Regions from separate parts of the Homo sapiens genome. Here all the other regions are linked to region 1. Evidence: promoter capture Hi-C in 16 types of primary human blood cells and fetal thymus (Javierre and others, 2016). All regions are on one chromosome and are shown on one strand. Each heading gives the region's core, a stretch centred on a gene start or on the middle of the fragment in contact. The rest is flanking DNA. Distances are from core to core; before and after follow the strand shown.

What was found. Contacts are between HindIII fragments. The CHiCAGO score rates a contact against its expected background, and 5 or more counts as called.
Region 2: a fragment that was not itself captured here is called in contact with the fragment with the promoter of ANKRD49 in region 1 in 13 of 17 cell types (activated CD4 T cells, naive CD4 T cells, total CD4 T cells and 10 more); the score reaches 9.1 in activated CD4 T cells.
Region 3: a fragment that was not itself captured here is called in contact with the fragment with the promoter of ANKRD49 in region 1 in 1 of 17 cell types (endothelial precursors); the score reaches 5.7 in endothelial precursors.
Region 4: a contact is called between a fragment that was not itself captured here and the fragment with the promoter of ANKRD49 in region 1, in 2 of 17 cell types (erythroblasts and endothelial precursors). The highest score is 7.4, in erythroblasts.
Region 5: a fragment that was not itself captured here is called in contact with the fragment with the promoter of ANKRD49 in region 1 in 1 of 17 cell types (endothelial precursors); the score reaches 5.0 in endothelial precursors.
Region 6: a fragment that was not itself captured here is called in contact with the fragment with the promoter of ANKRD49 in region 1 in 1 of 17 cell types (total CD8 T cells); the score reaches 5.3 in total CD8 T cells.
Region 7: a contact is called between a fragment that was not itself captured here and the fragment with the promoter of ANKRD49 in region 1, in 14 of 17 cell types (M1 macrophages, naive CD4 T cells, M0 macrophages and 11 more). The highest score is 12.8, in M1 macrophages.

Annotation. Positions count from the first base shown.
Region 1 is chr11:94,492,734-94,496,214 of GRCh38, reverse strand. It overlaps ANKRD49 (ankyrin repeat domain 49), which reads right to left and starts at 2,231. Exons shown (of 3, transcript NM_017704.3): 1 at 2,180-2,231. It overlaps MRE11 (MRE11 double strand break repair nuclease), which reads left to right and starts at 2,371. Exons shown (of 20, transcript NM_005591.4): 1 at 2,371-2,424; 2 at 3,309-3,433. The coding sequence starts at 3,414. RefSeq lists an enhancer at 1,932-2,021. The HindIII fragment of the contact is 5,313 bases long and covers 359-3,481 here.
Region 2 is chr11:93,798,669-93,802,179 of GRCh38, reverse strand. MED17 (mediator complex subunit 17) reads right to left here. Exons shown (of 12, transcript NM_004268.5): 9 at 208-345. Among named protein-coding and RNA genes, the nearest start is that of MED17, 16 kb to the right of the region's middle. The HindIII fragment of the contact is 2,427 bases long and covers 643-3,069 here.
Region 3 is chr11:93,939,049-93,942,290 of GRCh38, reverse strand. It overlaps the pseudogene LOC101060084. Among named protein-coding and RNA genes, the nearest start is that of HEPHL1, 81 kb to the left of the region's middle. The HindIII fragment of the contact is 2,285 bases long and covers 754-3,038 here.
Region 4 is chr11:93,845,167-93,848,835 of GRCh38, reverse strand. All of the region lies in intron 1 of VSTM5 (V-set and transmembrane domain containing 5), which reads left to right. Among named protein-coding and RNA genes, the nearest start is that of VSTM5, 3.6 kb to the left of the region's middle. The HindIII fragment of the contact is 1,626 bases long and covers 632-2,257 here.
Region 5 is chr11:93,878,273-93,881,559 of GRCh38, reverse strand. It overlaps the pseudogene LOC101060084. Among named protein-coding and RNA genes, the nearest start is that of VSTM5, 29 kb to the right of the region's middle. The HindIII fragment of the contact is 8,409 bases long and covers 1-3,287 here.
Region 6 is chr11:95,090,488-95,093,948 of GRCh38, reverse strand. The region is part of intron 1 of ENDOD1 (endonuclease domain containing 1); the gene reads right to left. Among named protein-coding and RNA genes, the nearest start is that of ENDOD1, 2.4 kb to the right of the region's middle. RefSeq lists a silencer at 730-1,024 and an enhancer at 730-1,024. The HindIII fragment of the contact is 2,956 bases long and covers 200-3,155 here.
Region 7 is chr11:93,815,273-93,818,698 of GRCh38, reverse strand. It overlaps VSTM5 (V-set and transmembrane domain containing 5), which reads left to right. Exons shown (of 4, transcript NM_001144871.2): 4 at 1-467. Among named protein-coding and RNA genes, the nearest start is that of MED17, 33 kb to the right of the region's middle. The HindIII fragment of the contact is 2,949 bases long and covers 235-3,183 here.

The DNA.
Region 1 (3,481 bases), core at 982-3,481:
CTTCTAATTCCTAAAAATACTATTTCGAAGAATCAGGGATTCTTGAAGATGGAATAGCCCCCAAAAGGACATCTGTTCCAATCTGTCATCGGTACATATATCTTTATCACAGCATCTACACTAATTATCCTATTTCTACTTTGATAATTTCAGGCCTAGGAAAATTCACTGCTTTAAAAAGTAGTCCTGTTTATTGATAGGCAACTATAGTTCTTAGTTGGGTCCTTGTTTTCAACTGAATTTTGGCTGTCATTCATTCCTTCATTCAACTAATATGAATAGAATGTCTGGTATGTGCCAACTTCTGGGTACTGGGATTCAATAATGAGCAAGATCCATGTCTTCACCTCAGGAAGCTTACTCTAGTGTAGGTGACTGGCAAAGACATCATGTGTCTGGCAAAGACAACATGATAAGTACTACTACAAGACCTTGTCTAGAAACCATGAGTATACAGGAGGTTCATAATTCCCCTAGTCCTAAGGGATTAAAGAAGGCTTCCTGAAGGAACTGATGTTTATTCTGCTAAGCTGCCATATTAATTTTTAAACCAATATCAGCTTAAAGGGTTACACAACATATAAACCTTAATCAATTAAAGAAAAGGAGAATAACCAATAGATAATTTACAAATACGAATTCCCAGCCTCTCAACTCTATTTGTTGAAATATAATCAGTCTTTCAAGGCTCTTCTCTGATGTTATCTCTTTCATTCTTTCTTGATCCTCTCATTTAGATCGCTTTCTGCTTTCTACTTTTTTTGGTGCTACATTTCACCTCTAACTTTGTTCTTGTTTTAGCCCCTTAAAAGATTATAAGCTGAAAGATAAGGACCACATTTAACTTATATTTATCTCCTACTTGTCTATAGAAGGCATTAAGAAGTATGTGTAGCATTACATTTAATTAAAGTCTTGTCACTTGATTTTGCCTGGAATGGATTCTGAGAAGTTCCAGAGTTAGGCATAACCCCAAGATACTGATTTCTTGATACCTAATCTCACAAGTTTAACAGTATACAATCTTAATGTGGTATTAAACTTTATTACTAGTGGCAATAGCACTAAACTCAAGTTTAAATGTATTACTCATGTCCAGTAACTTTTCTGGTCCTGTTACTTTATTGTAAAATGTAAGAATTTTACTAAAGTATTCCTAAGGCCAATCCGGCTTTTCAGTCACCCAATCAGAGACACCCTTGGAATCAGAGATATCCAATCAGAATTGCTCTGTGTTTTATTAATTCTCCTGGAGCTTCCACTTTTTCTTTGATTCTCAAACTAATTCCTGAACCTTGCAACACAAAAATGACCATACATCAATTCATTAAACACTTAACAGATGCTAATAAATAAAAGTTCACTTGTAATTATATCAAATATAGTAACCTTATACCACAGATCTTACCCTCTCCCCCAACATGCTTTTCCTTTCAATAAAAACTCCCTTTATATAAATTTTGAGTTTACAGATCCAGATACAAAAAATTATGTACAAAATTTTACTGGTATATTTAGTTTAAAAAGCCAAGCCTAGGCGCATCTACCCGACTTACAGTTAAGAAACAAAACTGATGACTTGATGATGATATTCCTGATATTCCATCAGGAATGTCAGGGTATGTTTCCTAACTTAAAGGGCATATCCTATTTTGAGAGAGATCCGAACTATGTCAACTCCTTACAAACAACTCAGTGATAGGCGGGGCTATAAACCTTACTGGTGAAGGAGGTTCAGATAGATTAAAACAACTTGCCCTAGATCAAGGACCCTTCAATGGAACTGAAAGGGCAGACGTTCTAATTCAAAAGTTCTACATTATTTTTCGCTGCACTATACATCTTACTGCTCTCAGCACAAAGCAGTGCAGATGTGCTGAACTCAAGGACCTAGGGGCGACACCTGTAGAGGGTCTGGCGACTGGGAGGGAGGGAGAGGGGATCCAGCTCCGGCACTCTGCCACCAGCCGGGAGCTCACAGGCCCGTGAGCTCCGCCTGCGGCCTTCCAAACAGCCAAGAGCGGAGAAGCGGCTTCGGTCCTACCTGGGGACCACGAAGCGGCCTGACCTGCAGGGCTCGGCCTGTGTCCACAGGCTACCCACCCCCACGGGCTCAGGAGTTCTTAGATGGCGCCGGTCCATCAAAAAGCGAGGTCCGGGACAGGGAATAACAACCCACCTGACAGAAGGGAAAATCGCCGCCTTGCATCTCACTTCCGGGTTCGTCTCCTAGCCTGCTCAGGATTGGCTCCTGCGTGAGGGCGGGGCCTCGCCGCTACTTTCCCCGCCCCCTCACTGCGTGCGGTAGCCAATGAGAGCCGAACTGGACTTGAAGCATCTACGTTATCCATGAAGTGTCGCGAGAGAAACGGACGCCGTTCTCTCCCGCGGAATTCAGGTTTACGGCCCTGCGGGTTCTCAGAGGCAAGTTCAGACCGTGTTGTTTTCTTTTCACGGATCCTGCCCTTTCTTCCCGAAAAGAAGACAGCCTTGGGTCGCGATTGTGGGGCTTCGAAGAGTCCAGCAGTGGGGTAATTTAGGAATCGCATTCGTCTCCTGTTTCTGCAGGTTCCCAGGCGGAAGCCCAGAGTTAACTGGAACCTCGGGAAGAGCGGGCCGAGTGGGCAGGGGAGGGGTCCTGGCGGGCTCAGCGTTCTGATTCCGAGGTTCCCTGCGGTGAGGGCGTGTTGAGGCTTGGAATCCCGACGGAATCTGGAGCTCCAGATGTGGTGGGGGTTGTCTCGCGGTGGCAGCCACTCTTCCCCAAACCTGGCTATTTTCAGTCATCCTGCTGGTGCTTAAAGGTGTTCCTCCGCAGACCACGTGTTTGTTTATTTACACTCGCTTTAAACGCGGGCCCGTTCCCTTTTCCAAACTAGCCAGGTCCTTTAAAAAAAATCGTGGGGTTTGAATAGGAAATACAGGATTGCCTCTGTTCTCCAGAGTAACCTATGCGTGCAACTTAAAAATATCTGCACATCTAGAGTTGTTTGTGTGTTGAACCAGAACCGTATGTGACCCTTTCTGCCCATTTATTTAGCATACATTAATTTCCCATAAGAGCACGGGAAAGGAAAATAGGAGTTTAATCATCTTGGTGAAACTAGGAAACAGGATGTACACTGGAGATATATTATTTTCTATGCTCAGTTCATTAAAAAAAAGTATAGTGGGTGCTTAGATGAAAATGAGACTTCTAAATTTGCCAGTCTAATTAAGACGTCTGTACCTTGTGCAGCGTAAATCATGTTGGTTAAATACGTGCAGGCTTTTAAAAAATGTGTTTTATGATGTAATTTTGTTTTTAGAATTTCTAGAATTTGGAATCGAGTGCATTTTCTGACATTTGAGTACAGTACCCAGGGGTTCTTGGAGAAGAACCTGGTCCCAGAGGAGCTTGACTGACCATAAAAATGAGTACTGCAGATGCACTGTAAGCACCTGACTTCTGGAATCCCTTGTTATTTGGGGTTTCTAAAGC
Region 2 (3,511 bases), core at 607-3,106, 690 kb after region 1:
AGTCAGATATGATCATCACTGCACTCCAACCTGGGTAAAAGAGTGAGACTCCACCTATTAAAAAAAAAAACACTCTACAGCTTATATAATTTACAGAAATATTATGCCACCCTAGCAAATAAAAACCAAATGCTTAATATAATTACTCAGCAAACATCAATAGCAAATTAACATATTAAATACAAAACTTTTATTTTGGCCACTTACTTGCATATTTGTTCATAGCCTTGTGATGTGATTAAAACTTTCACACTAGATTCATAAACATCATTGATATTTGACCAATGAGCCTGTATCTGAGGATCCTCAATTCGGCTTGCTAAGCTGTCAATGGTTGCAGCAGCTCTTTTAAATACAAGAAGTTAAAAAACTTTTTAAGTCACCATACAAAATGATAGGAATATAAATGATTCGAAAATTTTATGAAAATTTTAAAACTAACTACTTTTTTAAACTACCACTATGTGTAGGCAGACTTTAAATAAAGGCAGAGGTAGCTCTAAGAACCCTTTCATACTGCTTGAATGTGTAGGTTCTCAGCTTGACATTACAATACACTCTCATCACACACCCCTGATTATCATGATTCATGATGGGTTTATTCCCTTTAACTCTATTCATTTTCTTCCACTCAGAAAAGCTTATCAGGAAATGAGTGAGAAGGATATTCGATATTCTACGGTATAAACCTAATATAAATCATTCATAAATGTCAGTACTTGATCCCTGGTAACAAATGACTTGGGACACACCCACATCTAGACCCATTACTGTAATGAAATTATAATCATATTCAAGAGAAGCTAGAGATTTTTTGCACAATCAAATCCTTATACTCCAAAAAAAGAAAACTATCAATACCAATGAGAAATAAGATTTATCAAGTGTTCATTATACAGCATGCATTATAACAAGAGCTTTCATGAATTATATCATTTAATCTTACTAACATATCATTTAATCTTAACCTTATTAGGTAGGCACTATTATTTCCATTTTTTAAACAGAAAAAACTTTAGCAATGTTAAGCAATTTGCCCAAGGTCACATAGCTATAAACTGGGATACAAAACCTGGGAGTCTAAATCCAGAGCCAAAAACCTGGGAATCCAATTCCAAAGCCAGTAATCTTATACACACTAATCAACAGCCAACACTTAGAACCAAAGCATAAATCATTTAAATTAACCAAACCCTCAGTTTCTAATTATCTGATTTTTAGCACTTTACTGGAAAGAGAAAGAAAGGCCTGGAAGTGGCTCACACCTGTAATCAAAACACTTTGGGAGGACAAGGAGGGACGATCGCTTGATACCAGGAGTTCAAAACAAACCTGAGCAACATATCGACAACCAGTCTCTATAAATAAAAAAAAAATAAGCTGGGCACAGTGGCGTGCACGAGTAGTCCCTGCTACTCAAAAGACTAAGGCAGGAAGATCACTTGAACCCAGCAGTTCCAGGTTACAGTGAGCTATGACTCCACCACTGCACTGCACTCCAGTCTAAGCCAGAGTAAGATGCTGTCTCAAATTTTTTTTTTTTTTTTTTTTGAGACAAAGTCTCACTCTATCACCCAGGATGGAGTGCAGTGGTGCAATCTCAGCTCACTGCAACCTCCACCTTCCAGGTTCAAGTGATTCTCCTGCCTCAGCCTCCCGAGTAGCTGGGACTACAGGCGTGTGCCACCACGCCTGGCTAATTTTTCTATTTTTAGTAGAAACGAGGTTTCGCCATGTTGGCCAGGCTGGTGTAGAACTCCTGACCTCAAGTGATCTGCCCTCCTTGGCCTCTCAAAGTGCTAGGATTACAGGCATGAGCCACCATGCCACGCCTCACCTCAAAATTAAAAAAATAATAATAAAAATAAATTTAATTTTAAAAGACAATGGGAAGAAATGAGAAGAGCCAGTGGGGACAAGGGGCTTTTACATTAATAGACTTAGGGTTTGGTCTGCTGCTGCAGTACCGGCTTCTTACAATACATTCTGAAATTTATTTTCCTTTTTCCTTGATGTGTTTCCCTGACAGTGCTTCATAATTCCTATAGAAGGTAAGTATGTGTGTGAGCATTACGAGAACCATTAAACTGGAAATAAAATTATCTAGCAATGGAAAATTGGGAAAAGAAATCATGAAGTATTTACATTATAGGATATTATACAGCTATTAAAATAGATGAAAAAATTTACAATACAATATTAAATGAATGCAAGGTAAAAAATTTGTTTGTTTTGGTGTCACCCCTGAGGTATGAACTCAGAAGGATATAAAATTTTATAAACTCCGATTTTTCTTTAAAGACACACACACACACTCTGACACATACACATAAAAATATATTAGCATGTCAAGAGATCTCACTGTGCATGTTATCATACACATCAGTCTTTTTGTCTTTTTTAAGACATGGTTTCACTCTGTCATCCCAACTGGAGTGTAGCGGGGTGTGATCACAGCTCACTGCAGCCTCAACATCCCAGGCTCATGCAATCCTCCAGCCTCAGCCTCCCAAGTAGCTGGGACTACAGGTGCACACCACCACATCTGGCTAATTTTTTTTATTTTTTTGTAGAGATGGGCCATGTTGCCCAGGCAGGTCTCAAACTCCTGGACTTGAGGGATCTGCCCAGCCTCCCTGAGTGCTGAGTTTACAGGCATGAGCCACCACACCAAGCCCAGCTACTTTTTTTAAAAAGGCTTCCTGGCCAGGCACGGTGGCCCACGCCTGTAATCCCAGCACTTTGGGAGGCCAAGGTGGGTGGATCACTTGAGGTCAGGAGTTCGGGACCAGCCTGGCCAACATGGTGAAACCCCAACTCTACTAAAAATACAAAAATGAGCCAGGCATGGTGGCGCACACTTGTAATCCCAAATACTTGGGAGGCTGAGGCGGGATGATCGCTTGAACCCGAGAGGCAGAGCTTGCAGTGAGCTGCACCACTGCACTCCAGCCTGGGTGACACAGTGAGACTTCGTCTCAAAAAAAAAAAAAAAAAAAAATTTCTTGTAGAGACAAGGTCTCACTATGTTGCCCAGGCTGGTCTCAAACTCCTGGGCTCAAGCAAGCTTCCCATCTTGGCCTCCTAAAGTGTAGGGACTACAGGGGTGAGCCACCATGCCCAGACAGGGTCTTTTTTTCTTCACTAAGCTTTTTGTACACCAGGAAGAAGTAAAAGTTTTAAAGCTTTGCTGCTTCCAAGGCTACACTTACTACTCTGAAATTTATAATGGTTATAAAAATAGCTGTTTTTATGCTGATCATTTATTTGGGGAATATTTAAATTTATGGTCAATCAGAAATTTGCAAGACTAACGATCTACTCAAATTATCAGCTTTTTAAGTTGAACTGTATTAATGGTAAGAAACAGTAACCTATCATATAATGCTTTATTACTTATAAGAAACTTCTACATACATCATTTAATATGACCCTAAGACCCCACTCCTATACCTGCTATTGACGGGAATAAGTGGGGGACCATAGACACTAAATCCCTTGCTCGAAGTTA
Region 3 (3,242 bases), core at 647-3,146, 550 kb after region 1:
ATTTGGTATTTGTTCCTGGTTCCTGACACAAGAGAGTCTAAAACGCTTGGAATTTCCTGAGTGACAGGAGTGAGAGGAGCATCATTTACTTTTCCTCAGAAGCCCCTTTTAACCATACTTGAGTTTATGCTGATGAGGTATCTCTTGGTGGGCCCATACATAGCTTCAGGATGGGAACTGGTTACCAGAAGATCAGCCAGTGATTAGATGGTTGAAATTTTCAGCCACACCCTCTGACCTCCAGGGCTGGAGATTGATTAATCACCAGTGACCAATGATGTAATAGATCATGCCTACAAAATAGAGACTGCAGAAAAAACCTGGGTTGAAAAAAAACAGTTTTTTCAACTGGGTTCAGAGAGCTCCTGGGCTGGTGAACACATCAAGGTGCAGCTTGGGGAGTGCATGGAAGCCTCGCACCCCCATCTTCATGCCTTGCCTTCTGCATCTATGCTGCTCTTCCTGAGTTGTAGCCTTTATAATAAACTGACAATAGTGAGTAAACTGTTTTCCCGGAGGTCTGTCCAGGGATAAGTTCCATTTGGTTATGGTACATAACCCTTTTTATATAGTTCTAGACTTGGCCAGTGCTTTTTCACCAGCCACAGCTACATCTCATAGACTCTTTCCCAAAGCAAATCTCCTGTGGTGGCACTAGATCATATCTCTGATCTTAAAAACTGCTAAGTGGCAAATAATAACCAAAAAGCTGAACACTATTCAGCTGGATTCCTCAGGAGGCCCTCAGAAGCTTAATGAGACAAGCCGTGAAGGTGGCTCAGAGGACAGAGTGGTGGGAACCCCCAATTTATAGCAGGTTAGTCAGAAGTACAGGAGGCCTGGACTTGCAATTGGTGTTTGAAGTGGAGGAAGCCTTGTGGACTGAGCCTTGAACTTCAGAATCTGACTCTAACTCCAAGTAGATAGTGTCAGAACCGAACTGAATTGTGGGGCACCTTTGCTAGTGTTAGAGAACTGGTTAGAGTAGGGAAGAAAAAAACACACAGTTGGTGTCAGAAATGTCATGGGAGTGAAAAACAGATCTTTGTAGATGGGGATGAAGAATACAAGATGAGCTTGAAGCATCTTGTGTCTGAAAGTAAGGAAGTGCTCAAAAACCAAAAGGGTGGGGGCATGCCAAAAGGAAACAGAGGTCAACCTAAAGTATCTCCCCATGGCCAAAGCAGAAACCATTTGAGCAACAAAACAGATAAAGCAATGTTATGTGTAAATAAATATAAAATAAATATTTATAACTGCATACTGATATAAGTACATAATTACATAAATAATAAATGGGAAGGCTAATCTTCCTCACAGAAGAATTCCAAATAATTTATGTAGATTCCTAGGAAATAGAATTTAATTCCCCCATCCCTTTGAGTATGGAGTGCACCTAATGACTCACTTCTAAAGAATGAGAGTATAGAAAGTGGGAGGAAAGTCATTTTACAGTGACAAAAACTAGAAAGGTCCACCTAGGCCAGGTGATAAAGATTAACATCCGTAGCAATGCCATGTTGATAGCATGTACCACTGAAATGATGTGAATGGAATACAACTATGTTAGCTTCACCTCTGTGGTCTTCCTCCCAAAACCCATGACCCCAGTCTAGCTATGAGAAAAACATCAGACAAACCCAATGGAGGGACATTCTACAAAACATCTGACCAGCACTCCTCAAAACTGTCAAGGTCATCAAAAACAAGGACAAGCTGGGAAACTGTCATAGCCTAAAGGAACCTAAGGAGACATGACAATTAAGCATAATGTGATATCCTGGATGGGATCCTGGAACAGGAAAGAACATTAGTGGGAAAACTGGTGAAATGTGAATAAAATGTGGAATTCAGGTAATAGAAATATTCCAACGCTGATTTCTTAGTTGTGACAAGTGGTAATGTCTGATGCTCACAGTAAGGGAAAACTGGGTGAGGGGTATATGGAAACTCCCTGTGCTATCTTTGCAACATTTTTGTAATTCTAAAATAAAAAGCTAATTAAAAAAGAAAAAGAAAAAAAATTGGTTTCCTTGACTAAGGCTTTGAGTTTCCCAGTCTACTCAAGCAGAAGTCTAGGAAACCTGAAATCATTCAAAAATAGAGAGAGACTCAACCAAGTCTTCCTGTGTCTGAGTATCACTGTCTGAGCAGTGGCCCTACCCACAGATGGCTAGAGTGAGCAAAACACAGTGGAGAAACACAGGGCCCTTTATGTGAGGGACACTGATTTGGCCCCTTCCTCCAAGGCAGTATGCTGAGAGTGGTCTAAAGAAATTACGTCATGGAAACGCACCACGCCATCAGACCCCTGACAGGCTAATATTTGGCTGTAGAGTGGCTGAGAACATGAGTTCAGGAATACAGCCATGTCATCTAATGGATTCCTTTGTATTGGATGTTTTCTTACCCTACTACATGCAGTCATATGCCCAGTGTATGCCGTCTTACCTTCCATGCAAACAATGCCCTGAGAATAATTGCTGGTCCCTGGTTTGAGCTAGGTGCCCCTTCTGTTCCCTAGACATATCTTAATTGCTGCATCCATCTTGTTGGTCACATGCCAGCTCCCTCAACCTGGCTGGGTTGCAGGCATGTGCCTTATTCATCTCCTTATTCATCTCTGTATCCACAGTGCCCAGGGCATAATAAACTCTCAATAAATGTTCAGTGGATGACTAAACGTAAGAACAAATGACTGAATGTTCCAAACCCACAAAGGCAATCAGGAAATGTGATTATCCAAAGTAGCTTACACAAACTGAATGCACAGCTCTGTAAAACGTCAGCTTCCTTCTTTTTCTCTTCCTCTCTTTGATCACCCTTTCCCAAATGTGGAAATCCCAAAAGGGAACAAAGCCAGTTCTGAGCAGGATTTCATTTTGCAACTGTAGTTAAAATGTACTCTGTCACTTGCCACCAGCATCACTGGGATTTATATGTTCTTAGTAAGGGCCACGCTGTTCTAGATGAAGCATAAAAAATCCTATAATGATTATGTCTGGGATCTTTGCATACGCTGAATCATCTCCAAAGCTTATTTCCTACATGATCATACCTGACCCTGAAACGGCCTTGTCATGTCTTCCAAGTGCAAATAGTTGTCAGAATTTACTGAGGAGGAAATTGAGGCTCAGAGATGGCTGTCTGATATGAGGCAGATACAAGGCTCAAATCTGAACTTTTGACTCCAAGTCAAAGGTTTCTTCTGTGGAATTTCACTGCTGGTCACTTAGATGAAG
Region 4 (3,669 bases), core at 195-2,694, 650 kb after region 1:
ACCAGCCATTTGCAATAGCGTATAATTCATTCATTCACTCACTCATTGACTGTACCCTCTCCCTGCAGGAAGCAGGCCACAGTGGGTACCTAGGATATGGTGGTTCACTGTTTCGTTCTCAGGAAGCTCAGGTGTCATGGAGAAGACAGACATGCAAACAAGAGGGGCAGCCTTGCAATGGCAAGCCTTGAGAGGCAAGAGGTGCCATGTTCTAGAAGCCCTAGCGTCTCAGAATCCAGACTTGAGGAAACTTCCCCAAAACAGCCCCACCTGCCCATACCTGCCAGATGGGTAGGAGCAGCTCGGGGGACAGGACAAAGGGAATGCAGGGTGTACCAGACAAAATGGCACATGCAAAACCTGGAGGCCAGGTAAAAGTTTGCAGTTTTCCATTGAGACCTGTCTCATGGACAGCAGTAAGCTCCAGGAGGGCAAGCACTCTGTTTCAACTCAGGGTCCCTAGCACTTGCCCAGTGCTAGCCAGGGCCTGCGCCCTTAAAAGACGTTAAATGAATGTGTGCCTGCCTGAATGAAGCCTGTGCTTTGGAGCCAGTCATAATGATGAAGAGTAGGCCTCCTCCTTCCTACCAGTTCCCTGCATGCTCTACCTCTTCTGCCTGTGTCAAAAGCTTCATCCAGAACCTCTGATATTCACTATTTACCCTGAAGTCTGAGTTAAAGCATGCCAAACACCCTGCTTTTGAAACCTTTCCCCTACAAATGTATGGGTCCTCCCAAGATTCATATATTCAAGCCCTAACCTCCAATGTGATGGTATTTGGAGGAGGGGATTTAGGGAGGTGATTTGGTTTAGATGAGGTCTTGAGGTGGGATCCCATAATGGGATTAGTGTCCTTATAAGAAGAGGAAGAGAGACCAGAGCTCTCCCTCCCAGCTGTGTGAGGACACAGCAAGAAAATGCATATTAGCAAGCCAGGAAGAAGGCCCTCACCAAAAACTGGCACCTTGATCTTGAGCTTCCCAGCCTCTCCAGAACTGTGAGAAATAACTGTGGTTTAAGCCACATCAGTCTATGGTCATCTGTTACAGCAGCCCAAGCTGACTAGGACAAGGACTTATGGGCTCGGAAAGCTGGCAGGCCTCCCCACCAGACCAGGCACCTTTCTAGAACATTTGTTCATGTCCTTTCCCAGTACATTAGCCATCAGGCTCACGAGTACCCACCCAGTGCTCCCTCTCATTCGGAAGTACTTGATCCAAGACTATAGTAGGATAGTTTAGTTAATGGCCTGGGCCAGAATCAACTTGCTTTTTTCCAATCCCAGTTTCTAAGTAACAGTCAGCTCCCCCAACACACACACATATACACACTGGGGCCAGTCCTCAGAAAAATAGAGGAACAGGGCTAGGGCTGAATCTGAAGCTGAGGAGGGAGTGGACAGACCCAGGGATGCCACAGCCAGAATGGAGCTGTGGGTTCTGGGCTTAGTGGAAGGTGGGGGCGGATGGGATGAGGAGGGAGCCAGTATAGAAGGAATCCTCTCAAGGCCCTTCACGAGACTCTGGGTCCATCACTCCATAAGTCCTCAGCAGCTGCCCAACGCTGCCATCCATGTGGCAAACATCTTAGAAGCACCTACTATGTTGCCGTGGGCCGTGCACTGATCCCTGATCAAACAGAGACACATGAGGTGTGGTCTCACTCTGCACTGTCCTTTCAGATTTATAAAAAATATTTTTGCATACATACAAATGTACCCACTGGAAAAAAAGTGAGTTTCCAATGTACTTTTAAAAAATGCAATCATGGGGCCAGGTATGGTGGCTCATGCCTGTAATCCCAGCACTTTGGGAGGCCGAGCCGGGCGGATCACAAGGTCAAGAGATCGAGACCATCCTGGCCAACACAGTGAAACCCCGTCTCTACTAAAAATACAAAAATTAGCCGGGCGTGGTGGCAGGCGCCTGTAGTCTCAGCTACTTGGGAGGCTGAGGCAGGAGAATCGCTTGAACCCGGGAGGCAGAGGTTGCAGTGAGCCGAGATCATGCCACTGCCCTCCAGCCTGGTGACAGAGTGAGACTCCATCTCAAAAAAAAAAAAAAAAAAATTAAAAAAAATTTTTTAAAAATGCATTCATTCTGTACTGTTTATTCAGCAACTTAGTTTTACACCAATTTTTTTTAGCTCTATCCATGTTGATAAAGGAAGTGCATTCCTTTCAACTTCTCTACATATGTCATCATATAAATATGCTGCTTTTTACTTAGCCAGACCCCACTGATGGACAATTAAGCTTTCAGCTTTTAGCCCTCACTCAGGGGAGAGAAACTCCTCATACAGGGTGATGTGTGCAGTGCTAGTGATGCGCACATCGTATGGAAGAGGTGCCAGCTCCCTGGCTGATGGGCACCCCTGCACACACACTTCCTCCCCATCTCAGAAAATGCCTGAAAGACAAAATTGAAGCTGTTGGGGGTGCGGGCTGGAGTCAACTGGAAAGTCACACAAATGTCTTACTTCCTGATCTCCAAGAGCCTTCCTGAGTATGCTCCCTGCTGGTCTAGGAGCGGGGCAAGGGCCAGGAGACTCTCCTCTCCATTATCCCCAGGACCTAAGGACAGCTATATCCCTTATCTGATGTAAGACTCTTTGGGAAAAAACAAAAAAAAACTTACTATATCTAAAGTCAGAATTCATGTTATAAATCAATAGCTTTGAAGCTGGGCACAGTGGCACACACCTGCAGTCCCAGCTACGCGGGAGGCCGAGGTGGGAGGATCACTTGATCACTTGAGCTCAGGAGTTTGAGACCAGCCTGGGCAACACAGTGAGACCCTGTCTCTAAAACAAACCCACAAAAAGGCTTTAATACAATTTTTGTCAGCCTGGATTGAAGTTGAGTTATTCCAAAGAGAATGTGTGTTGCTTCTGCCAGTCATGGGAGGCATCCTGCCTGGCGAGTCAGAAAACACTTCATGGAGCAGGTGAGGTTGACTCTTGAAAGATGAGTAAGTGTGTACAGCAGGACAGGGTGGAGAAGAGAATTGGAGGCATACAGCAGGTGCTCAAAAAATAGGTGCACAATACCTCTGGGGACCTGGCAAGGGAAGAGGGAGTGGAAGTTGCCCTAGCATGCACCCATGGGAACTTAGCCACTGCCCCACTCAGAGACCCCACTGATGCTGGAGCCCCACTGTGCACCCAAGACGCTGGCTTCTCTGCACCTGGATTTTCCCTGGAAAATGGGCTTGGAGTTGGAAAGTAATTACTTATCCAGCAGGAATGAGAGTGGGAGGGATGGGGATTGACAAGTTTCAAGTTGGAAACGACTCGCCCCTCCTATAACTGGTTTGCTGGGCTGGGAAGTTACCCGTCATCCTTTTAGGAAAAGGAAAAATGACACACTGGACAGTAAAAGGAGCACAGGACATTTTTTGTCCATGTGTCCAGCTGGTCAAGGGAGCATGCTAGGCTTTCTCTCTGCTGAGACACACCCTGGGGCAGTTCAGGTCCGTGCCATGCTGACCCCAGAGGAGCCCTGCTGCAGAGAATCCTCAGCTGACAGCGCCCATGCCAATCCCAGTGGTGTATGTAAGCCCCATATGTGGGGTCATCTTTCTCTGAGTGTACACGGACCTAGTAAGATGCCCACATCCTGCTGTAGACCAATTAGATCACTATCTCTGAGGGCAGGACCCAGACACTGT
Region 5 (3,287 bases), core at 505-3,004, 610 kb after region 1:
AGTCAAACTGATTTATTTGACAAACATACCACACTTCCCCATGCTTATAATCATGTCTCAAACCCAAGAAATTAAAATGTCAAGATGATGAAAATAATACTATATCACACAATCTACAAAATTCTACTGAATTTTACTTGCTACAACCTTTCATATATGATCCCAAAAGTGTAGGTAAATGGTGAGATGTTTGGCATCTCACTCTATGACTTTGTACCTAAGAAAAAAAACAATATTTATTGTGAAGGTAGCATGTGTTGGATACTGTGCTACGCACTTCATATACTATCTCATTTAATAGCATAGAGAAGCAGAATAACAGAATGATGGGGAGAAGAGTTTTATAAGCTAAACAGCCTGGGCTCAAGTGAAGCTCTGCCACTTACTAACTCTGTGCCTCAGCTTTGCAATTTATAAAATAGATAGAATGAAAATAATGGCACTTTTTTGGCCAGGCACAGTGGCTCATGCCTATAATCCCAGCACTTTGGGAGGCTGACGTGGGCAGATCACTTAAGACTAGGAGTTCGAGACCAGCCTGGCCAACATGGCAAAACCCTATCTCAACTGAAAATACAAAAATTAGCCAGGTGTGGTGGGATGTGCCTGTAATCCCAGCTACCTGGGAGGCTGAGGCGCAAGAATCTCGAGTCCAGCAGGCAGAGGTTGCAGCGGGCTGAGGTCATGCCACTGCACTCCAGCTGGGGCAACACAGTGAAATCCTGTCTTAAAAAATTAAAAGGCCAGGTGTGGTGGCTCATGCGTGTAATCCCAGCATTTTGGGAGGCAGAGGCAGGTGGACCACTTGTGGTCAGGAGTTCAAGACCAGCCTGGCAATATGGTGAAACCCCATCTCTATTAAAAATACAAAAACTAGCTGGGTGCAGTGGCCCATGTCTGTAATCTCAACTACTCAGGAGACTGAGGCAGGAGAATTGCATGGCCCAGGAGACAGAGGTTGCAGTGAGCCAAGATCATGCCACTGCACTCCAGCCTGGGCAACAGAGCGTGACTCAGTCTCAAAAAAAAAAAAAAAAGAAAGAAAGAAAAATAAATCACAGTACTTTATTCATGGGGTTGATTAACTGATTAAAGGACTAAATGAGTCATTACAGGTAAGGCAGATAGGACAGCATTGGCTTTCTAGTGTCAGAAATTCACCTTTATCTTCACAACAACCTGGTGAGATTAGTATGATAATACTCAATTTAAAGATTAAGTAACCATAGTTCAGCGAGGTGAAGCAATTTGCTCAGGGTCACAAAGCCGATAATGCCATAGCTAGTATATGAATTCAGGAATGCTTCAAGTATAGCCCAGGAATGAAATTCCCGGAATTAGTTCACACATGAGCTCCTATCATGCACAGGCACTGCAGATAAAGTGAAGAACAAGAAAATGAGATCCTGTTGGCTTAGTTGGGGAAAAAAAGAAAGTCAAATATAAACAAATAGATGAATAAAGTAATTTCAGATAGTAAATAAACAAATAGATGAATAAAGTAATTTCAGATAGTAATAATGCAGTGAAGATGATAAAACAGACTGATGTCAATAAGCAAAAACTAAAATTAACACAAATGTTCATTAAAGATGAATGAATACACTGACTCTACTATATCCATAAAATGGAATAGCAAGGAATACAATATTGATACACACAACATAGTGGATGAATCTCAAAATCATGATGGCAGGAGAAAACCAGACACAAAAACTAAATGCTGTGTGATTCTATGTATATACTGTCACGTGCATCCATGTGAAGAGACAACCAACAGGCTTTGTGTGAGCAACAAGGCTGTTTATTTCACCTGGGTGCAGGTGGGCTGCGTCCGAAAAAGGAGTCAGCAAAGGGTGGTGGGATAATCATTAGTTCTTATAGGTTTGGGATAGGCATACAAAGGACATTCTCAAGCGTGGGGAGAATATTACAAAGTACCTTCTTGAGTGTGGGGGGGAATATTACAAAGTACCTTCTTAAGGGCAAGGAAGAATACTACAAAGTACCTTCTTAAGCGTGGGGGAGAATATATCGTATCAGTTAGGGTGGGGCAGGAACAAATCACAATCATGGAATGTCATCAGTTAAGGCTATTTTCACTTCTTTTGTGGATTTTCAGTTGCTTCAGGCCATCTGGATGTATATGTGCAGATCACAGGGGATATGATGGCTTAGCTTGGGCTCAGAGGCCTGACAATAACATTCCAGAAAATGCAAATGAATCTCTTAACATAAAACAATTCAGTGGTTGCCTAGGGCTGAGGGCAGAGGAAAGAATAGACTGCACAGAGTAAACTTTTGGGGTTGATGGAAATGTTCTGTGAAAGAAAAATAAATCTTCAGGCCCCCAAATCACTAAAGGGAAAAGTCAAGCTGGGAACTGCTTAGGGCAAACCTGCCTCCCATTCTATTCAAAGTCACCCTTCTGCTCACTGAGATAAATGTGTATCTTACTGCCTCCTTTGGAGAGGCTAATCAGAAACTCAAAAGAATGTAGCCATTTGTGTCATTTGTATCACACCTGTAATACCTATGACCTGGAAGCCCCTCCCACTTTGAGTTGTCCTGCTTTTGCTTCAAGCTGTTCCATCTTTTCTGGACTGAACCTACGTTCATTTCACATATGTTGATTGATGTCTCATGTCTCCCTAAAATGTATAAAACCAAGCTGTGCTCTGACCACCTTGGACACATGTCATCAGGACCTCTTGAGGCTGTGTCACAGGTGTGCATCCTCAACCTTGGAAAAATAAACTGAGACCTGTCTCAGATTTTCAGGGCTCACATTCCAGTAACCACAGAGGGATTCTGAGTGGAGATGCCCCTGACTTTTGACAAATCTCTTATCAGTGCTTAGTACCAGCATGAGCTAACTTTATGGTCAAACCAATAGCACAATTTGCTGAGGTCTGGGAGCACCCCCTCCAGAAAGGACCTGATCTCCCAAAATTTGGTCAAGATCTAAAGTTTGTTTTGCTATACAACTCCCTTTTTTGGGAGTTTTATTTGCTTCCAACAAGGAAGGCAAGTTTTCCTGCTTCAATGATGAGGGAAGGCAGGTAACTCCTTTATGCAGTTTGAGCTGGCTTCCAAAAGGGAAGATAGGTTTTTTTTCCTGCTTCTAGGATGGTGGAGAGCAGTCTTCAGCCTGAGACCCATCCCTAAGTAAGTAGCTGAATTGGGGTTTTGTCTTGGCTAAAGTTAACAACCAGCTGGTTTTAATTTCTCCTTACCATAAGAGTACTCAGTAATCATATAAGTTTTGTGATTGTTTGTTTTCCTTA
Region 6 (3,461 bases), core at 428-2,927, 600 kb before region 1:
GAATCCAGTTCTCAGGTTTCTGGAGTCTTGACTAGAACTCCTCCAAACCATCTCCTGTAGGCAGAGCAGAGATCAAAATCATTTGGGATAGTTTCAAAGGCCAAAGCTAAGACTGATGGAGTGGCTGCAGAGCAGGGTTCCAGCTCTGCATAGGGAGCATGTTTGTAACAGTTGCTGCTGGCCAGCCCTGGTGCAAGCTTCTGAAACAGGAAGCGCCCCACTGAGAAAACTGAAGCAGAACATCTCACCTGCTCCTGCCTGATTGATCCTCCCAACATCAAATTATTTTATTCAACACTTATCGCGTGCTTTCTATAAGCTGGGCACTAGGAAAAGAATGAGTAAGATGCAATCATCATTCCTCAAGGGCTCAAGTTGGGGAGACAGATACATAAGCAGATAATTACAAAACAACATGGTAAGTATGAAAATAGAAAAACTATAAGAGCACTGAAGGGGTGAACCTAACTTGGGAGGTGGATACAGTTCAGGTGGGGAATTCTTTCTGGAGGAGGTGACACCTCAGCAGAGTCTTAAAGGATGGAGTAAGGGCAGGAAGTGAAGGATAAGATGGGGTCTGTGTAGAAAGGGAATTTGGGCAAAGGGAATCAGCATGAGCTAAGAAACAGACATCACAAACAGTCTGGTTTATGAGAGGAACTCCAGGCAGCTGGATAATGCTAGAACATAAAATATGAGGGTGGAGCATGGTGAGAAACTAGATTGGAGCTGGAGACAGGAGCTAGGCTATGGAGAGCCTGTAAACTGCATTCTGCAGTGTGAACTTTGTCCTGTAGGGGCTGGGCAGGCAACACTTTACAGATTTTCAGCACAAGAGTGACTAAGTTTCTGTGATCTTTGACTTAGGAGATTCTTTTCAAAGGGAAACTGCAGTGTGGACTCAAAAGCTGCCGAACTGGGCTTTGGGAATTCAGTGTCACTGCTGCCCTGCCTGACTCATCACTGGAGGCAAGCACTGAGTTCCTTTGGTCTCCTGCCTCTTCCTCCCCTGTGTGCGGGTCCTCTTGGTAACACTGACCTCATAAAAAGGTGATGTGGGTACAAGGAGACTCAGCATTATAAAATGCTTGGAAGCCGCCAAGGGTACACATTGAGCCCTGAGCATCTTTCTGCAGTGGGGATCTTGGCTGGGAGGCAGGGCCTCAGGGAGCAGGCAACAGTGGGGGCAGGTTTGCTGCAGTGCACTCCAGGCCCAGCTGCACCTCACACCTCCTCCTCCCTCCCTCTCTCCCAATACTCTCTGGATCCTGGCTGACTTGACTTGAGGTCGAGCGGGTGGATGTGGGAGGCCAGCCACCTTGCAGGGAAAAGCATCCTGCAGTGCTCAGCCACAGTGACCATTCTGACCTCTCAGCACAGCAGGAACTCAGGCCCCTTGTACTCTTCAGAACCGCTGTACATCTTACCTCTCAAGCTGCCATTTGTAACTATTTCCACCCTCCCTTCCCATCTTCTTTAATCTCCACAGTCCCCTTCCTCATTATCTCACCCAGGGTCTCCATGTTACCTGGTTCCCTGTACTTCTTTCTGTCAAACTATGCTCCTTTACGACTCACTCCTTCCCTAGCTGCATAAATGGCTCTGCCTCCCTAAGCCTTCCTTGGTGGCTCCTCCCCACCTGATCCCTCCCTTCCATGATTCCTTTTTATTCTGAGCAATTGAGTGCATTCATCTATTTGTATTAGTTTACCTGTTCCAACTTCTTCACGCACAAATCCCTGAATCTGCCATGCCTTTCTCACTCATGATGTTTGTTCCCTCTGCTTGAAATGTCCTCCTCCTTGCCTCCCTTCTAAACTCTGCCTTATCTTTCCACACACAGCAGAAATGTCATCCTGACCCTAAGGCTTGCTTCCATCACCTCAAAGACAGATTAAATCTAATAGGACTTTGTTCACCTTTATTAAATTATGGTTTTTTGCTTAGGTCATAGCAACAGCTAGTACTTAGTACTCATGTGTCACACACCTGAGAACTTTATATATGGTAACTCATTAAATCTTCACACCACCCTATGCTATTATCTCCAATTTAACCTGCCCAAGTTCATAGCTAGTCAGTGGAGCAACTAGGATATGAACCCACATAGCATGGCTCTAATCAGATACTACACCACCTCTCCACCCAGCAAACTCCACCTGCAGATCAGGTAGCCTTTGTTCCAGAACTGCACTCAGATCTCTTGGTCCCAAATATCTGGCACACAGCAGGAGTCACTAAATGTGTTCTGAATTTAACTGAAATTTGTTTAGCATCCATTCCCATGATTTCCTCAGACGTATGTTCTGTCTCCCCAAGCTGTCCATGAGATCAAGGGGAAAGAACTAGCTCATTTGTTTTCTTCGCAGGCACACAATCACAATGCAAGATGAGAGGTGGGGAACACCCTGTGAGCTCTAGGGGTGCAGCTGGTGGAAAACTAATTTTGGATTTAAATGTGTCTTGTGTGTGCAACTGACAACGTCTTTTTCACATGCCTGATCTCGACAAGTGTTATCAACAGTTGAGGTAGGTGGAAGGATGTGAGGAAGATAAGAAAACTAGGTGCAGATTGTTTGAGACCTGGCCAAGACCTCAGAGCTAGAAATATCTGAATGAGATTACAACCCACAGGCTCTGAATAAAGCACCTGAAAGCCAGCCTCCTGTCCACTGGTGTGGTCCTGGGCAGCTGTGGCCGTCAGGAAAGGGAGAGCGTTGGGTCAGTTCTTCCCCCAGCAGCCTGGGCAGGGGTGGGAGGCTGGTGAGAGGGCAAAGGGGAGTCTGGCAGGGTGTTCTAGAGAGGAGGCCAACTGAGGAGAGGTATTAAGAGCAGGCCAGCAGGTTCGGAAGACTCTGAGGGCTTCTCAAGTGTTTGGTCACCTTTACCAGACGGGACAGAACACCATGAGAGGTGACACGATTTCCTAGTGGTATGATAATATAGATATGAGGAGTCAGGAAAAACTGGCTTATCTTTCCATCAGTTGGAGGTAGTCAATGTTTCCCTATCATTTTTAACTACCCCATTGCGTTTCTAAAAATCTGTATCTTTATTTCATTGTTCTAATTCAACACAACCGCAGATCGAATTTACTCAACGCCGTGGTAGAGGAAGGATTTTCAGGCTAGGATGAGCTCTGCAGAAGAGAAGCTTTACTTAGTAGAAAAGGCAGTGAATTTCTAGACAGAGACCTGCCCCATCTTACTAACTGGGTAGTCTTCCATATGTCTCTTCACCCCCTGGGTTTATCTCCTCTTCTGTAAAATGGGGATGAAAATGCCCACCTACCCACCTCCAAATGAGTGCTATGGCAATAAGTTGCACGAAGGCCTGTGAGCGCCCAGCCTAGGCTTTCTGCGGATCTGAACGGTCTCCAGGGTCTCTGTATCAAGCTCTTCACCATTCAGGAATGAAACACTGCGGATGTCTGCTCAGAAATGCAGGGAGAACCTCCTCCC
Region 7 (3,426 bases), core at 460-2,959, 680 kb after region 1:
GCTGCTGGGGCCAGCATGTCCTCTTCCACACTACCTGCCTTTCAGAACTCTGCTCTTCCGCTTGTCCCGAAGTCAGGGCTGGCAATCTTCATAATCAAAGGGGAGTTGGAAAAGAACACCCACTAAGAGGCCTCCATGGCAGATGTCAATTAAATTGCCCCCCCGCCCAAATCTCATGACAGTTTATTCACATCAGTAGTGTGGGAAGTTACAATGTTTTTTTTAAAAAAAGCTTCTTTCCTTGGCTTTCCATTTCTTTGAAAAAAGGGTTTCTTTTGAATTTTTAAAGCTCTGCCATACTGAACATTCCTGTGGAAAGGTTTAAAATGCAGAGCCTGAGGTTTTTGCTTTTCAGAAAAATAAAAATCTTAGAGATTAGCTAGTGTAAATGTTAAGCTATAAATTATATTTCAAACTGTGAAAAAAAAAAGTTTTAAAGAATGAATGAAATAAAACCTGAAAATAAAGCCCTGGTCCTTTGTGTGTGTGTCTGCTCCTGCCAAGAAATCAGAGGCTCTGGGTGCTGTGTCCTGTCAGGCTGAGCATAAACAAAACCCTTAATCACAGTCAGGTCTGGCACATATTTTAAGTGACAACGCAACTAATTACACTGGTTCTAACAGTAAACATTATTTAGCAATTCAGAAAAACTACACCTTATCAGCACCACCATTCTCCCCCAATTGTAGCCAGAAGACCAATTTGAAATTTATGCTTTCAGAATATTAACTGTAATTCAATAGCATTCTTCCTGCTTCTGGAATGGGCCAAAAGTAGGATGTGATAATTGTACCACTTGTTCAGCAGTGGATAAGATACCCTACAGAACACACATGCTTTGTCAACAGAATGTCCTTTCAGAGGTTATGATCTTAGAACCCCAAAAGGTATATACTGTACTTTCTCATTTCATGGTGTTCCGTGTATGCAAGGAGAGCTCATGTCCTCTGAAGGCCACATAAGATGGTAAATACCTGAGAGCACTTCATGCATACTCTGATTTGAAGCAATACCTCACAAAGGTGAGAAGCTAAGGCAGTGAGAGAGGTTATCAGGATATCTTGCCCCAGGCAAGAATGCAGAGACAAACCCTACAATTCTGAAGAGCTGGGTAAGTGTTAACAAGGGATTGAGAAGAGATGGCAGAACAGAATGCTGGAGATGTAACCAGGAACAAGGAGCCAAATATGACAGGGTGAATCCCCAGGGACGTGATTCACGTGCTGCCTCCTTGACAACACTGGGGAGGATACTGGGGGAAGTGGAAACCATCTCACCGGCATCAGCTTTTACATATCCAGCATAGGTTTCTTCTGCCCAGTTTCCAGGGAAGCATCAGACACATCCATAGTTTACTAAAAGCAGAGCAAATCCTTGTGATCACTGTTAGCACATCTATCCCCAACTCAATATCCACTAATGGTGTGAGTTGCCAGAGCTTGCATCTCTCTGCACCCCTGAATCCACCCAACCTGGCTGTCAGCTTTTCCAATTCTTGAGAACATTTCCACTGCCCTTTAAAAATTAAGTGGGTATTTTTGGTTTGGCTTAATTACAGAGGTGATAAATCCTTCTTTAAAATTCAGATAGCACTAAAGTCTATATATATTAAAGTATCTTTGGCTAGAGTTAATTAACAAAAACTAAATAAAGTAAAAGATCTCTCTCCTTCCCTCAATCCAGAGGAAACAATAGTCGAATTTGGTGTGTATCCTTCTAGACTTGCTTATGCATATATGAACATATCTGTGTATATATATGCCAAATATACATATTTATCCTATTTTCTTTCTAGTCAAATGGGATTCTATCATATATATTACCCTACAACTCACCAGTCTTTCCTTAATGTGTCGGGAATTATTTCATGTCTACCTATTCCAAAACTTCATTCTTCTTGCCTGCACAATGCAGTCTATAGTATGAATACACTATTTTTTTTTTTTTTTTTAAAGAATTTTGCTCTTGTCACTCAGGCTGGAGTGCAGTGGTGCCATCTCAGCTCACTGCAACCTCCGCCTCCCAGGTTCAAGCGATTCTCCTACCTCAGCCTCCCAAGTAGCTGGGATTACAGGTGTGCACCACCATGCCTGGCTAATTTTTGTATTTTAGTAAAGACAGAGTTTCACCATGTTGGTCAGGCCAGTCTCGAACTCCTGACCTCAGGTTATCGGCCTACCTCAGCCTCCCAAAGTGCTGGGATTATGGGCATGAGCCACTGCGCCGGCTGGGTTTTTTTTTTTGAATACACTGTAATTGTTCACTGAAAAATTACTTTTTATTTCAAATGATATATACAAAAATCATCTTAGGCAAACTTTCTATGTATCAGGCTAGTTCCTTCAACCAAGATGGTTTCCTCCTGTTAAGTAATGCATTCAACTCTACCTCCTGTGAATCTCTTAGTCTTTTAGGGAATTCCATGTTCCACGATTTTGGTGGGTTTTACATAAAATTTATCAGAGATTGAGTATTGGTGGAAGAAAGGGTATTGATAATGTAAAATAAATCTGAAGTTTTAGTGTTAGATTTGGTTTTATAAAGTACACATTATCAAACCAAACTGGGGTCTGCTCATCTGGCACAGCAAAGCCAAGCACTGACGTTGGGACTGCAGCAAGAGGAAGTGAGGCATTTATTGTAGGGCACCAAGCAAGAACTCCAACTCCTCAATGGCTTACAGGTAAAGGTTTTAAAGGTGGGGAGGCAAGCCTGGGTACAATGGTTCACACCTGTAATCCTAGCACTTTGGGAGGCCAAGGTGAGAGTATCCCTTGAGCTGGTTTGAGATGAGTCTGGCCAACATAGTGAGACCCTGACTCTATAAAACATTTTTAAAAATCAGACAGATGTGTTGGTGTATACTTGTAGTCCCAGCTACTCAAGAGGCTGAGGCAGGAGGATTACTTGAACCCAGGAGGTTGAGGATGCAATGAGCAGCTGATTGCACTACTGCACTCTAGCTTGGGTAACAGAGCAAGACCCTGTCTCAAAAAACAAAAACAAGAAAACCCCAAAAAACCCACAAAGGTGGAGAGGCAGAGGTTACAGGCAAAGTCATAAATCAATACACGGAGGCTATATATTGGTTTGATGTAAAAGGTGGGACATCTTGAAGTAGGGGCCAACAGGTCATAGGTGGATTCAAAGATTTTCTGATTTGCAATTGGCTAAGGAGAAGCTTTGTCTAAAATTTGGGTCAACAGAAAAGAATGTTAGCTCCAGCTCACAGGCATGACCTCCTCCAGGCCCCTCGGGAAAAAATTCAGAACAAAGAACGGCAGCCCAAGTTGTCCTTGCTTATCTGAGGTCTACATGCCAGCAAATCCACTTGGTGGGGATCTGAGATTCTGAAAACAACTCAGGGACATATTTTAAGATGTTATCTTTAGTTTCTATAGGGAACCAAGCATCTGGACTCTTAAC